2 separate regions of the Homo sapiens genome follow, and region 2 is linked to region 1. Evidence: promoter capture Hi-C in 16 types of primary human blood cells and fetal thymus (Javierre and others, 2016). All regions are on one chromosome and are shown on one strand. Each heading gives the region's core, a stretch centred on a gene start or on the middle of the fragment in contact. The rest is flanking DNA. Distances are from core to core; before and after follow the strand shown. Region 1 holds the start of IL1RN (interleukin 1 receptor antagonist). Region 2 holds the start of IL1A (interleukin 1 alpha).

What was found. Contacts are between HindIII fragments. The CHiCAGO score rates a contact against its expected background, and 5 or more counts as called.
Region 2: the fragment with the promoter of IL1A here is called in contact with a fragment that was not itself captured in region 1 in 2 of 17 cell types (M1 macrophages and neutrophils); the score reaches 5.8 in M1 macrophages.

What each region holds. Positions count from the first base shown.
Region 1 is chr2:113,125,675-113,131,479 of GRCh38, forward strand. IL1RN (interleukin 1 receptor antagonist) reads left to right here and starts at 1,924. Exons shown (of 4, transcript NM_173842.3): 1 at 1,924-2,066; 2 at 3,902-3,990; 3 at 5,371-5,483. The coding sequence starts at 1,951. The HindIII fragment of the contact is 5,902 bases long and covers 1-4,449 here.
Region 2 is chr2:112,780,721-112,786,865 of GRCh38, forward strand. It overlaps IL1A (interleukin 1 alpha), which reads right to left and starts at 3,773. Exons shown (of 7, transcript NM_000575.5): 1 at 3,723-3,773; 2 at 3,004-3,058; 3 at 1,996-2,044; 4 at 884-1,106. The coding sequence starts at 3,050. The HindIII fragment of the contact is 4,198 bases long and covers 1,009-5,206 here.

The DNA of each region.
Region 1 (5,805 bases), core at 249-2,748:
TTTGTTGGTTGAAAATAGACTCATCAAGATCAACTGCTGTAGTAGTAAATATTTTGACATTTTGTCTGTATTCCTGTGCTGCCCTCACAAGCTGCATCACCTTGAGTGAGTCATTCATACTTTTTTGTTTGTTTTTGTTTTGGAGATGGAGTCTTACTCTGTTGCCTAGGCTGGAGTGCGGTGGCGTGATCTTGGCTCACTGCGACCTCCATCTCCTGGGTTCAAGTGATCCTCCTGCCTCAGCCTCCCGAGTAGCTGGGATTACAGGCACATGCCACCATCCCTGCTAATTTTTGCATTTTCAGTAGAGACGGAGTTTCACCATGTTGGTCAGGTTGGTCTTGAACTCCTGACCTCAGGTGATCCGCCCACCTCAGCCTCCCCAAGTGCTGGGATTACAGGTGTGAGCCACCGTGCCCAGCCCAGCCATCATTTTTGAAACACGTTTGAGAAATAGTGTCTTCCTTTGAGGGCCAAGGAGACATTTTTTTTGTTTATTTGTTTGTTTTTGTGAGGACTAGCTGAAGGGGGTGATGTATATTAACCTGCCTACTTATTTGCCTCTTCCCAGAGTGTGATGAATATTAGGGTTTAAAGTTTCTGAAGCATTTGTTAATAAAGCCCGGGGCTGGAGGTCAGAAGACCTGGATTTCTCTGCATACTTTTGCCATCAGCAAGCTGTGTGACCTTGGACAGATCCCTTTTTTGTCTAAATCTTTCTGAGTCTTCTTGAAAACAATGCCAGGTTGGGACAGGATGATTGCCAAGCTCCCGTCCAGCTCTAAAACACTGCAACGTATGCTTCTGCACCAGCACTGTCCATCCTGTAGATCATGCAGAAATTCTCTTCAACTTTTTCCTACCCATAAAATAGGAGCATGCTTACCTTTTTCCTAATGTTCCAGGCCCCGGGTCTAGAATATTGTAAGTAAGGAAGTTAATGTGTATCAGAGCCCATTATGGGCCAGAAGTTCTCCTCTTCCTTCCTACACCTGCTTCCTCCCTCCCTCCCTCCCTCTTTCCCTTCCTTCCTTCCATCCATTTGTGAAGAAGACATGATCACCCTCATTCTGAGAGTGAAGAGACAGAGGCTCAACTAATGAAATGATTTGTTCAAGGTCACACGGGTGGCACAAGGCAAGTGGCAGAGGTTGAATTTAGACCCATTCCTGTCCAAATGCTGAGTTTATGTCATCGTCCCGAGACCATAACTTTAAAGATGTAAGATAGTGGGAAAAGAGTTGATTTCAAAGCACCTCTCAGAAGGACTCACTTTACATCAGGGGTCAGCAGACTCAGGCCAAATCCGGTCCATTCCCCGCTTTTGCAAAGAAAGTTGTAGTGGAACACAGCTAGGCTTATTGATTTATGGATTGCCAACGTCCTTTTGTGAAACAGACAGCTGAGCTGAGTAATCGTGGCGCACAAAACCTAAAATATTTACTATCTCGTCCTTTACAGAATGTTTGCCAATCTATGGTCCGGAGTCCAAGGCTGTCCATTTTTCAAAGAACACAAAGTGACATGAGACTGTCCCATGTGCAGGGAGCCCTATCATTTTATTATGAAAAAACGGCCTTTCTGCTCAAATCTGTTTTTTAAAAAGTCAACAAACAGACTCTGGGTACCTGTCAGGAACAGTAGGGAGTTTGGTTTCCATTGTGCTCTTCTTCCCAGGAACTCAATGAAGGGGAAATAGAAATCTTAATTTTGGGGAAATTGCACAGGGGAAAAAGGGGAGGGAATCAGTTACAACACTCCATTGCGACACTTAGTGGGGTTGAAAGTGACAACAGCAAGGGTTTCTCTTTTTGGAAATGCGAGGAGGGTATTTCCGCTTCTCGCAGTGGGGCAGGGTGGCAGACGCCTAGCTTGGGTGAGTGACTATTTCTTTATAAACCACAACTCTGGGCCCGCAATGGCAGTCCACTGCCTTGCTGCAGTCACAGAATGGAAATCTGCAGAGGCCTCCGCAGTCACCTAATCACTCTCCTCCTCTTCCTGTTCCATTCAGAGACGATCTGCCGACCCTCTGGGAGAAAATCCAGCAAGATGCAAGCCTTCAGGTAAGGCTACCCCAAGGAGGAGAAGGTGAGGGTGGATCAGCTGGAGACTGGAAACATATCACAGCTGCCAGGGGCTGCCAGGCCCCAGAGGGCCTGAGAACTGGGTTTGGGCTGGAGAGGATGTCCATTATTCAAGAAAGAGGCTGTTACATGCATGGGCTTCAGGACTTGTGTTTCAAAATATCCCAGATGTGGATAGTGCGACCGGAGGGCTGTCTTACTTTCCCAGAGACTCAGGAACCCAGTGAGTAATAGATGCATGCCAAGGAGTGGGACTGCGATTCAGGCCTAGTTGAATGTGCTGACAGAGAAGCAGAGAGGGGCACCAGGGGCACAGCCCGAAGGCCCAGACTGATATGGGCAAGGCCTGTCTGTGCTGACATGTCGGAGGGTCCCACTCTCCAGGGACCTTGGTTTCCCCGTCTGTGACATCTGTGACATGAGAGTCACGATAACTCCTTGTGTGCCTTACAGGGTTGTTGTGAAAATTAAATGCACAGATAATAGCGTAACAGTATTCCGTGCATTGTAAAGAGCCTGAAAACCATTATGATTTGAAAATGGAATCGGCTTTGTGAGACCATCACTATTGTAAAGATGTGATGCTGATAGAAATGACAGGACTGCTTGTGCATGCCCTCTGCAGTGTGACATTCCAGCAGTGAAATCATGTTGGGGTGACTTCTCCCCCACTCTGACCTTTATGTTTGTCTGGGCCGAGGCTGCAAGTCGGGCTCTGTGGGTGTATGAGTGACAAGTCTCTCCCTTCCAGATATGGGGACTGTCTGCTTCCCTAGGTTGCCTCTCCCTGCTCTGATCAGCTAGAAGCTCCAGGAGATCCTCCTGGAGGCCCCAGCAGGTGATGTTTATCCCTCCAGACTGAGGCTAAATCTAGAAACTAGGATAATCACAAACAGGCCAATGCTGCCATATGCAAAGCACTTTGGTTTGCCTGGCCACCCCTCGTCGAGCATGTGGGCTCTTCAGAGCCACCTGATGAGGTGGGTACAGTTAGCCACACTTCACAGGTGAAGAGGTGAGGCACAGGTCCCAGGTCAGGCTGGCCAGAGCTCTGTTTATTACGTCTCACAGCTTTGAGTCCTGCTCTCAACCAGAGAGGCCCTTTACCAAGAAGAAAGGATTGGGACCCAGAATCAGGTCACTGGCTGAGGTAGAGAGGAAGCCGGGTTGTTCCCAAGGGTAGCTGCTCCTGCAGGACTCTGAGCAGGTCACCAGCTAATGGAGGAAAGGCTCTAGGGAAAGACCCTTCTGGTCTCAGACTCAGAGCGAGTTAGCTGCAAGGTGTTCCGTCTCTTGAAACTTCTACCTAGGTGCTATGGTAGCCACTAGTCTCAGGTGGCTATTTAAATTTATACTTAAATGAATGAAAATAGAAGAAAATTTAAAATCCAGACCCTTGGTCACACTATCCACATTTAAAGAGGTCAATAGCCACATGTGGTTAGTGGCCACCCTATTGGGCAGTGCAGCTACAGAACATTTTTGCATCCCAGAAAGTTCTTTTGGATGTTGCTGCTCTACAGCATGCTTTGCTGAAACAGAAGTGCCTTCCCTGGGAATCTCAGATGGGAAGCAAGTAAGGAGGGGAGTCAAATGTGGGCTCACTGCTCACCAGCTGTGAGGGTTGGGCCTGCCTCTTAACCATTGTCAGCCTCAGTCTTCTCATCCATGCATGCCGTGGGTATACTAAAATACTATACCCCTGGAAGAGCTGGATGCAAATTTGACAAGTTCTGGGGGACACAGGAAGGTGCCAAGCACAAGGCTGGGCACATGGTGGCTGTGCACTACAGCTGAGTCCTTTTCCTTTTCAGAATCTGGGATGTTAACCAGAAGACCTTCTATCTGAGGAACAACCAACTAGTTGCTGGATACTTGCAAGGACCAAATGTCAATTTAGAAGGTGAGTGGTTGCCAGGAAAGCCAATGTATGTGGGCATCACGTCACTTTGCCCGTCTGTCTGCAGCAGCATGGCCTGCCTGCACAAACCCTAGGTGCAATGTCCTAATCCTTGTTGGGTCTTTGTATTCAAGTTTGAAGCTGGGAGGGCCTGGCTACTGAAGGGCACATATGAGGGCAGCCTGAAGAGGGTGTGGAGAGGTAGAGTCTAGGTCAGAGGTCAGTGCCTATAGGCACAGTGGTCCCAGGGCCACAGCTGGGAAGGGCAAATACCAGAAGGCAAGGTTGACCATTCCCTTCCTCAAGTGCCTATTAAGGCTCCATGTTCCTATGTTGTTCAAACCCTAACTCAATCCCAAATTAATCCACCATGTATAAGGTTGAGCTATGTCTCTTATTCCTGGACACCATACTCAGCCATATTCTGGTCCACACATTAAACAAGCTGGATGACCTTGAAGAAGCTTCACCCACTCTGTTCCTCAGCTTTCCCTTCAGTGGGATGATATCAACTGGACAACAGGATGTGCGATTCTTTTAGTTCCAGCCTTCCAGGATGTTTTCACTCCCCTGTTTGTTGTTGTAGGATGGTATTACCTCCACCTTCCCACCTTCCCTATGCCCTGGTTCTGTCTCCTGTGCCTCGCTCTGAAAGTGGATGAGACCTACAATTCCTGTCCTGGTAGTTCTCCTAATGAACACACTGAAGCACGAGGAAGCTGAGATTTTTGTTGCTACATGAGAGCATGGAGGCCTCTTAGGGAGAGAGGAGGTTCAGAGACTCCTAGGCTCCTGTGGAGCCCCACTCATGGCCTTGTTCATTTTCCCTGCCCCTCAGCAACACTCCTATTGACCTGGAGCACAGGTATCCTGGGGAAAGTGAGGGAAATATGGACATCACATGGAACAACATCCAGGAGACTCAGGCCTCTAGGAGTAACTGGGTAGTGTGCATCCTGGGGAAAGTGAGGGAAATATGGACATCACATGGAACAACATCCAGGAGACTCAGGCCTCTAGGAGTAACTGGGTAGTGTGCATCCTGGGGAAAGTGAGGGAAATATGGACATCACATGGAACAACATCCAGGAGACTCAGGCCTCTAGGAGTAACTGGGTAGTGTGCATCCTGGGGAAAGTGAGGGAAATATGGACATCACATGGAACAACATCCAGGAGACTCAGGCCTCTAGGAGTAACTGGGTAGTGTGCTTGGTTTAATCTTCTATTTACCTGCAGACCAGGAAGATGAGACCTCTCTGCCCTTCTGACCTCGGGATTTTAGTTTTGTGGGGACCAGGGGAGATAGAAAAATACCCGGGGTCTCTTCATTATTGCTGCTTCCTCTTCTATTAACCTGACCCTCCCCTCTGTTCTTCCCCAGAAAAGATAGATGTGGTACCCATTGAGCCTCATGCTCTGTTCTTGGGAATCCATGGAGGGAAGATGTGCCTGTCCTGTGTCAAGTCTGGTGATGAGACCAGACTCCAGCTGGAGGTAAAAACATGCTTTGGATCTCAAATCACCCCAAAACCCAGTGGCTTGAAACAACCAAAATTTTTTCTTATGATTCTGTGGGTTGACCAGGATTAGCTGGGTAGTTCTGTTCCATGTGGTGGAACATGCTGGGGTCACTTTGGAAGCTGCATTCAGCAGAGTGCCTGGCTTGCGCTGGGCATCCAAGGTGGTCCCTCATCCTCCAGGCTCTCTTTCCATGTGATCTCTCAGTGTTTAAGAGTTAGTTGGAGCTTCCTTACAGCATGGCGGCTGACTTCCAAAAGGGATTATTCCAAAAAGAGCCTCAACATGCAGGCGCTTA
Region 2 (6,145 bases), core at 2,523-5,022, 340 kb before region 1:
AGGTAGTAGTAGTAGTAATAATAATAATAATCATAGGCCGGGCGCGGTGGCTCACGCCTGTAATCCCGGCACTTTGGGAGGCCAAGGTGGGTGGATCACGAGGAGATGGAGACCACGGTGAAACTCCGTCTCTACTAAAAATACAAAAAATTAGCCGGGAACAGTGGCGGGTGCCTGTATTCCCAGCTACTCAGGAGGCTGAGGCAGGAGAATGGCATGAACCCAGGAGGCAGAGCTTGCAGTGAGCCGAGATTGCGCCACTGCACTCCAGCCTGGGTGACAGAGCCAGACTCCATCTCAAAAAAATAAAATAAAATAATAATAATAATGATAGTAATAGCTAACATTTATTGGGTGCTTACTTTGTACCAGACATTATTCTAGTCCAGAAGTTAGGGGATGTTGACTCATTTAATCTTTATAACAGTCAGGAGGGCCCAGCTAGCTCAGTCTGTAAAGCCTGAGACTCTTAATCTTTACAGCAGTCCAATGAGTGGGGGATTCTGATTATCTCCATTTTACAGTAGAGGAAACTGAATCACGAAAAGATTATGTAACATGACCAAGGAGGCATAGTTAGTATGAGAGGAACATAGCTCGTAAGTGGTCTTATTACTGCTTTCTCCTGAAAGGCTAAAAGTCACACGACCTTTACAATATGGCTAAGAAATAATGGCTGTGAGCAAGTATTCTCGATTCAGGCCACTGCTCATTTCTCCCTCCTGGAGAAGGATAAAAATTAATTTTCCTCTGTATAGTTACCAGACTAATGCTTGGTTGTCTTCTTGTTATTCTGACTCCACGTTTAATTTTCCCCTAAATTCTACTGTCCCTACTTGCTTAAAACTGTAAAAGAAAGATATTATTGTGCTTGACCCCTTACCTTCCTCTGAGTCATTGGCGATGGCCTCCAGGTCATCATCAGTGATGGATTGGCTTAAACTCAACCGTCTCTTCTTCAGAACCTTCCCGTTGGTTGCTACTACCACCATGCTCTCCTTGAAGGTAAGCTTGGATGTTTTAGAGGTTTCAGAGATACTCAGAGACACAGATTGATCCATGCAGCCTTCATGGAGTGGGCCATAGCTTACATGATAGAAGGATTTCTGTGAGGAAGGAAAACAGAAGCTGAGAGGCTGTTCATGGTCAGGGAATGAAAGTTCTTTCAGTAGGTGCTGTATTCAACAGAGGTAGTGAGGAGGATCTCCATTCTGGTCTTAGGTAACTGGTGTTTCATTAGGCTTCCCTCCCTCTCTCCCTTTTGTCTCACCTTCCTTCCTCCTTCCAGGATAAAAAGATGATTTTTTTAGGAAGACTTTTTCATTTATTTGCATGCTCAAAAATGAGATGTTGTAACTAAATAGGTTAACAATGATTGTAGTGAGTGGTAGCTTTCCAATTAGTTCCCTCTCAGGAGGTTAAAAATCTGCTTAACAATGCTCAAAATATTTTAGAAATACTCCTTTGGGGACAGCTTTTAAAGCCAGTACTGAAGACATACTAGGCAGTACTTATAGTGTCTATTTGTGGTCTCCAAACACAATAACACAGATTGATGAGTGGCTGTAGACTTCTCACTTTCAACTGGCTTGCTTCCTCTCTCTCAGCTTCATGTTTGGAGACTTTCTCTAACCTCTGATGCTGGTGTCAGAGAAGACAACCACAACACATCACGTTAGGAGACAGACACCTGGTGAAGCGGCCTGCGGGGCCTTTCTCAGGATGGCATAACTAACATCCTGATGAAGCCTGCCCCAGGAGACTCCAGTTCTCAGGGATTTGGGATGGTTCTGCTCTGTTCTGGGAGAAGCCAATGCACATCAACTATTAGTTTAGAGAGGCAGCTGGTCTCACTTATAATGAAAGACAGGTCTCTGGACCTCTAGTGAGGGTAAAACAAAAGTATTGAAGATTCAAGTCATTGCTGTTCTCTTTGGATGAAGAAACCACTGTGTAAGAATAGCAGTCCCATGAGAATTACAGTCATTTGCTTACCTGATTCAGAGACAGATGATCAATGGAGGAACTGTCTTCTTCATTTTCACTGTCAAAATAAGATGATGAGAATGTAATTGTTGTTATTTCAGTGTGGTCTCTGGCCAATGTACTTTAATGACCATGATAGTTGTGGGTCACACACATACACATGGCCATTACTGTCATCTTTGAAATTTAAGGACTTCTACACATACACATAGGTAGAGTAATTCATATCTTACTAATCTGGAATTAGTAGTCATCAAGACAGGCTTTGAGCTTTACCTGTGCTTTATCTGTAAAAATTGGACTTGGCTAACAAATTGAAGAGCTTTAATTGAAGTTCAGGGAAGAATGTTAAGCTCCTTTAGAGAAAAGAAAGGTTTTGAAGCACTTCCTTTTTATTTTAACCAAATAGATTATATGTTACACATTACTTTCATGTATTCACTAAAACAGATTTCATAATTTATACTTAGTAAAATATCCAGGCAAAATTTTGACAGCCTAGTTTGTGTTAGTATTTACTACAGATAATGGAAACATCATGTTAGTTTAATATGTTCCGTAATTTTATCTTTGTGTTCATTTACCTTTCTTCTACATCTGAGTGAGATTTGCCTGCATATGTGAGTTCACATGCCCAGCTTGCTGTGGAGCCATTTCCTGTTCCTGAATGAGATCAAGTTTTCCTGAGAATGGACCAGTAAAACCCATTCTTATATCAGGGCATGTGATCTCAACAGAGGCTGTGTCTAAGTTGATGCTGATATTCATGTAGGGCTCAGCAGACCTCAAAAATAATTTTTCTAAAATGGCGGTCTCCCTGCCAATGTAATCTCAGTTTAACATGCTGAATGCTTAGTTTTTCTGGGTCTTCTCTGAACCTGCTCTGACTTCAGGACTAGTACACATCTCTACAACCTCTGCCGGCCTGCCCCCATGCTGGCCACTGTTATGCCTAGCTGGATTCTGGTGAGCCTTGAAACCCTCATTAAATCACAAGAGATAAATCTTATTCCTTACCTGTAACAGTTCTTCAGGTCTTCAAACATGTCTGGAACTTTGGCCATCTTGACTTCTGCAACAGAGAACACCAGCCACCATCAGCTCAGCCAGCCTCTAATCCAGATATCTGTGAGGGGAGCCCCTCCTCTTTGTGCTTCCTGAAAACTTTGTTGAATGACTTAGTCCACATTCAGCATTTTCTCCATCTTCTAGCTCCTTTGAATTAGTTTGCTATGTACCTGTCTCCTTTATTAGATCGTAAACTTCTTTTAGAATGTTTTATTTATGTTGGTATTCCTTATGTGCCCAACCTAATGTATTGCCAGAACAGGCATTCAATCAATGAAAGTTTGAAGAGGTTACAAAAACACCACAAGAATAAGGTATTTGCCTTACACAGAGGTAAGAGAGAGACAGAGTTGGAAATTTTCAATTTTCTCCTAATAATTTTGGATAGTAGAGATTCCCTCCCATGAGAAGCCTCAGTTGTATTCACCCATGCCCTCATAGGAAACTAGTTCTGCTGTCCCTCAGTATAACGAATCAGTCCTTATCAGCAAAATGAGAGAATCATTTTCTGAAATCTGACTGTAATTCTAGGTCACATACCAAACCAGGGAGGGACAAGAAAAGAAAGGAGAGGCTGTAGCTTTAGAGAAGGCAATGTGAGAGAAAACAGCCAAAGAGAAAAACAACAACAGAAAATACTTTAATAGCCAGAGATGTGAGGACAATACCTTTGCTGACTCAAACGCCAATGAAATGACTCCCTCTCTGGCTGGCAGCTTAAGCCTGAGTCAGTCTTCTTCGCCTTTTGTAATTGTCTTAAGTAGGCGTGGCTACGTGGCTACAAGTGCGTCGTCAAAACGGGGAATTTACAGGGAAGAATTCAGTTTTGTATTTTTCTATGTTCATTCAACTCGATACTGGCTAAAATAGTGAAAGATGGCATAGCTGATATTATTGTTGTTTGCAGATATTCCAGAAGTTATTGATTTGGTTCATTTATTCACCCCTTTGCTTTATAAGATGACAAACATGTAGTCTTAGAAAAAGGGAAGCGCGGGAAACTTATCAAGTTTCTAGGAGGAAGGGAGAAATCGTGAAATCCGAAGTCAAGGGGCTAGATTTGGAGAGGAATTTATTAATAATAATAGTTCTAATAGTAGCTGTAGTTGTGTTCTGGCTGAATTTGTTGATTGTGCTCCAGGGTGAATTGGCAGAATACTTGGCAGCTCCTGGCAACTTTTGAGGGAAAATGAGCCATCTTTTCTGAAGAGGGAAGTTTGCTTGATTAAGGCATAAATCACCTCAGAGTTTGGGGTGACAAGCTCCTGGTTAGGGCAGGGTAGAGAAGAGAACAGTGGTATTTGAGCACAAAGAAGTCTTGATCCTCTTACTCTTCTGAATATTGTCAACACATTTCCTATAGAGGGGATGGAGCTTCAGGAGAGAACTCTCCACCCTGGCCCTGTTACAGTAAAGTAGCCCTCTACCAAGGACCAGAGAGAAGCCTGGTCTTCTGTAGGATATGCCCAAGGTGTGTCTTCTGTAGAAGAAGGTGTGTGCAAGCCCCGGGAGGTATGCGTAAGGCCTCAGCCAGAAGCCAGTGGCTAAGTTTGGGAATGGAGATTGGGAGAAAGGAAGGCATGGATTTTTACATATGAGCCTTCAATGGTGTTGCCTGGTTACTATTATTAAAGAATTTCTCAGCTTTTATAATTCCTGTGGCCAGCCTAGTTCAGGTGGTAGAACACCAGACTCTTAGCAAATGAATGTTTTGGGTTCCCAGTTGGAGTTTAAGCCATGTATATTTTAAATAGAGGAAATGAACTAGGTGTGATGGCATGCCCCTGTAGTCCCAGCTATTCAGGAGGCTGAGGCAGGACAATCACTTGAGGCCCAGAGTTTTAGTCCAGTGTGGGCAACATAGTGAAGCCCCCATCTCTAAAAAATAATAAACGCAAAAAAGCATGGATCTGGGAGGAAAGCAGCTTGTGTGAGTTGGATAAAGTATTCCCTCTGTTCCTGTTTAATTGTAAATAATGGGGTTGGTTAGGTGTCATAAGGTCTATTGCAGGTGCAAAATCTCTTATTCTGATTTAATGCCAGTCTAATTCTCCTGGTCATAGACCTGGTGCTATAATAGTTATAACAGGAGCCACAGAAATAACCACACTTGGATGTAAGCAATGTAAGTGTAGCACCAGACTAGGGTAGAAGCTTGGGTGTCTAAGGATGAATCCTGAAGCAACAGTGATGCCAGCCAACTGGCTACATTTCTGCTTACCTTGGTTCCTCTTTAGGCAACACAGAAATGTTAATCCTGATTAACCCTCTCCTCCTGAGAATCTTGTGAGGGCTATTGCTAAGGAACAATTGCAAAGCACATTGTGAATGTGAGCTGCTATGGAGATGCAACTAAACAAAAATAATGACAATGCTAATGATGGCTTCAGTCACTCAAGAACCTGTATAGTCATCATTATAATGCCTCAGTTCACCAAAGAAAATATAGTTCTTATGAAAATACTGGCTTGAAAGCTTCAACAGGGATAACATTTTCAGGTGAAGGCCACCATTGAAAGCCTGAAGATATTTAGCTTCTGGGAGCAATGCATACCATCTCTTTGGTAATCCAGGAAAAAAACCCTGGTTCCACCAACATAGGCAATACCTATCCTGGTCCCATCCTCACTCCTCTGTTGTAAATAATTCCCCAAAGGTGGTTGTTGAATTTTTCAAAGAGAACTTGGTTGAGAAACAGCTAACTTGGGTTAGAATATCACCCAACCTTTTCCTTCACATGATCTTCTTGTAAATTGATTTTTAAAGGAAAACTAGGGTGGGTGAGGTTCAGAGAGAGGTGGGTCCTTGCATTGTTTTGGGGAGCCCGCTTTTCTGGGACTGTGAACAACAGTCACCTCTTCTAGGGAAGGGACAGTGGAACGTACTGGGCAGGGCTCTACTGGGTAGATAGTGGAACATACTGGGCAGGCCTGTGGTGTGTGCGTTGGGAGCCATCCTGTGACAGGGACTTTGGGTGGCTTCAGGCACCCACCTCTCGACTCTGAGGAGGCCTCAGGAAACCCTTAATGAGTCACTGTCATCTAAATCATTTAGGAAAAAAAAATTATTGTGCACTTATCCTATGCCATGG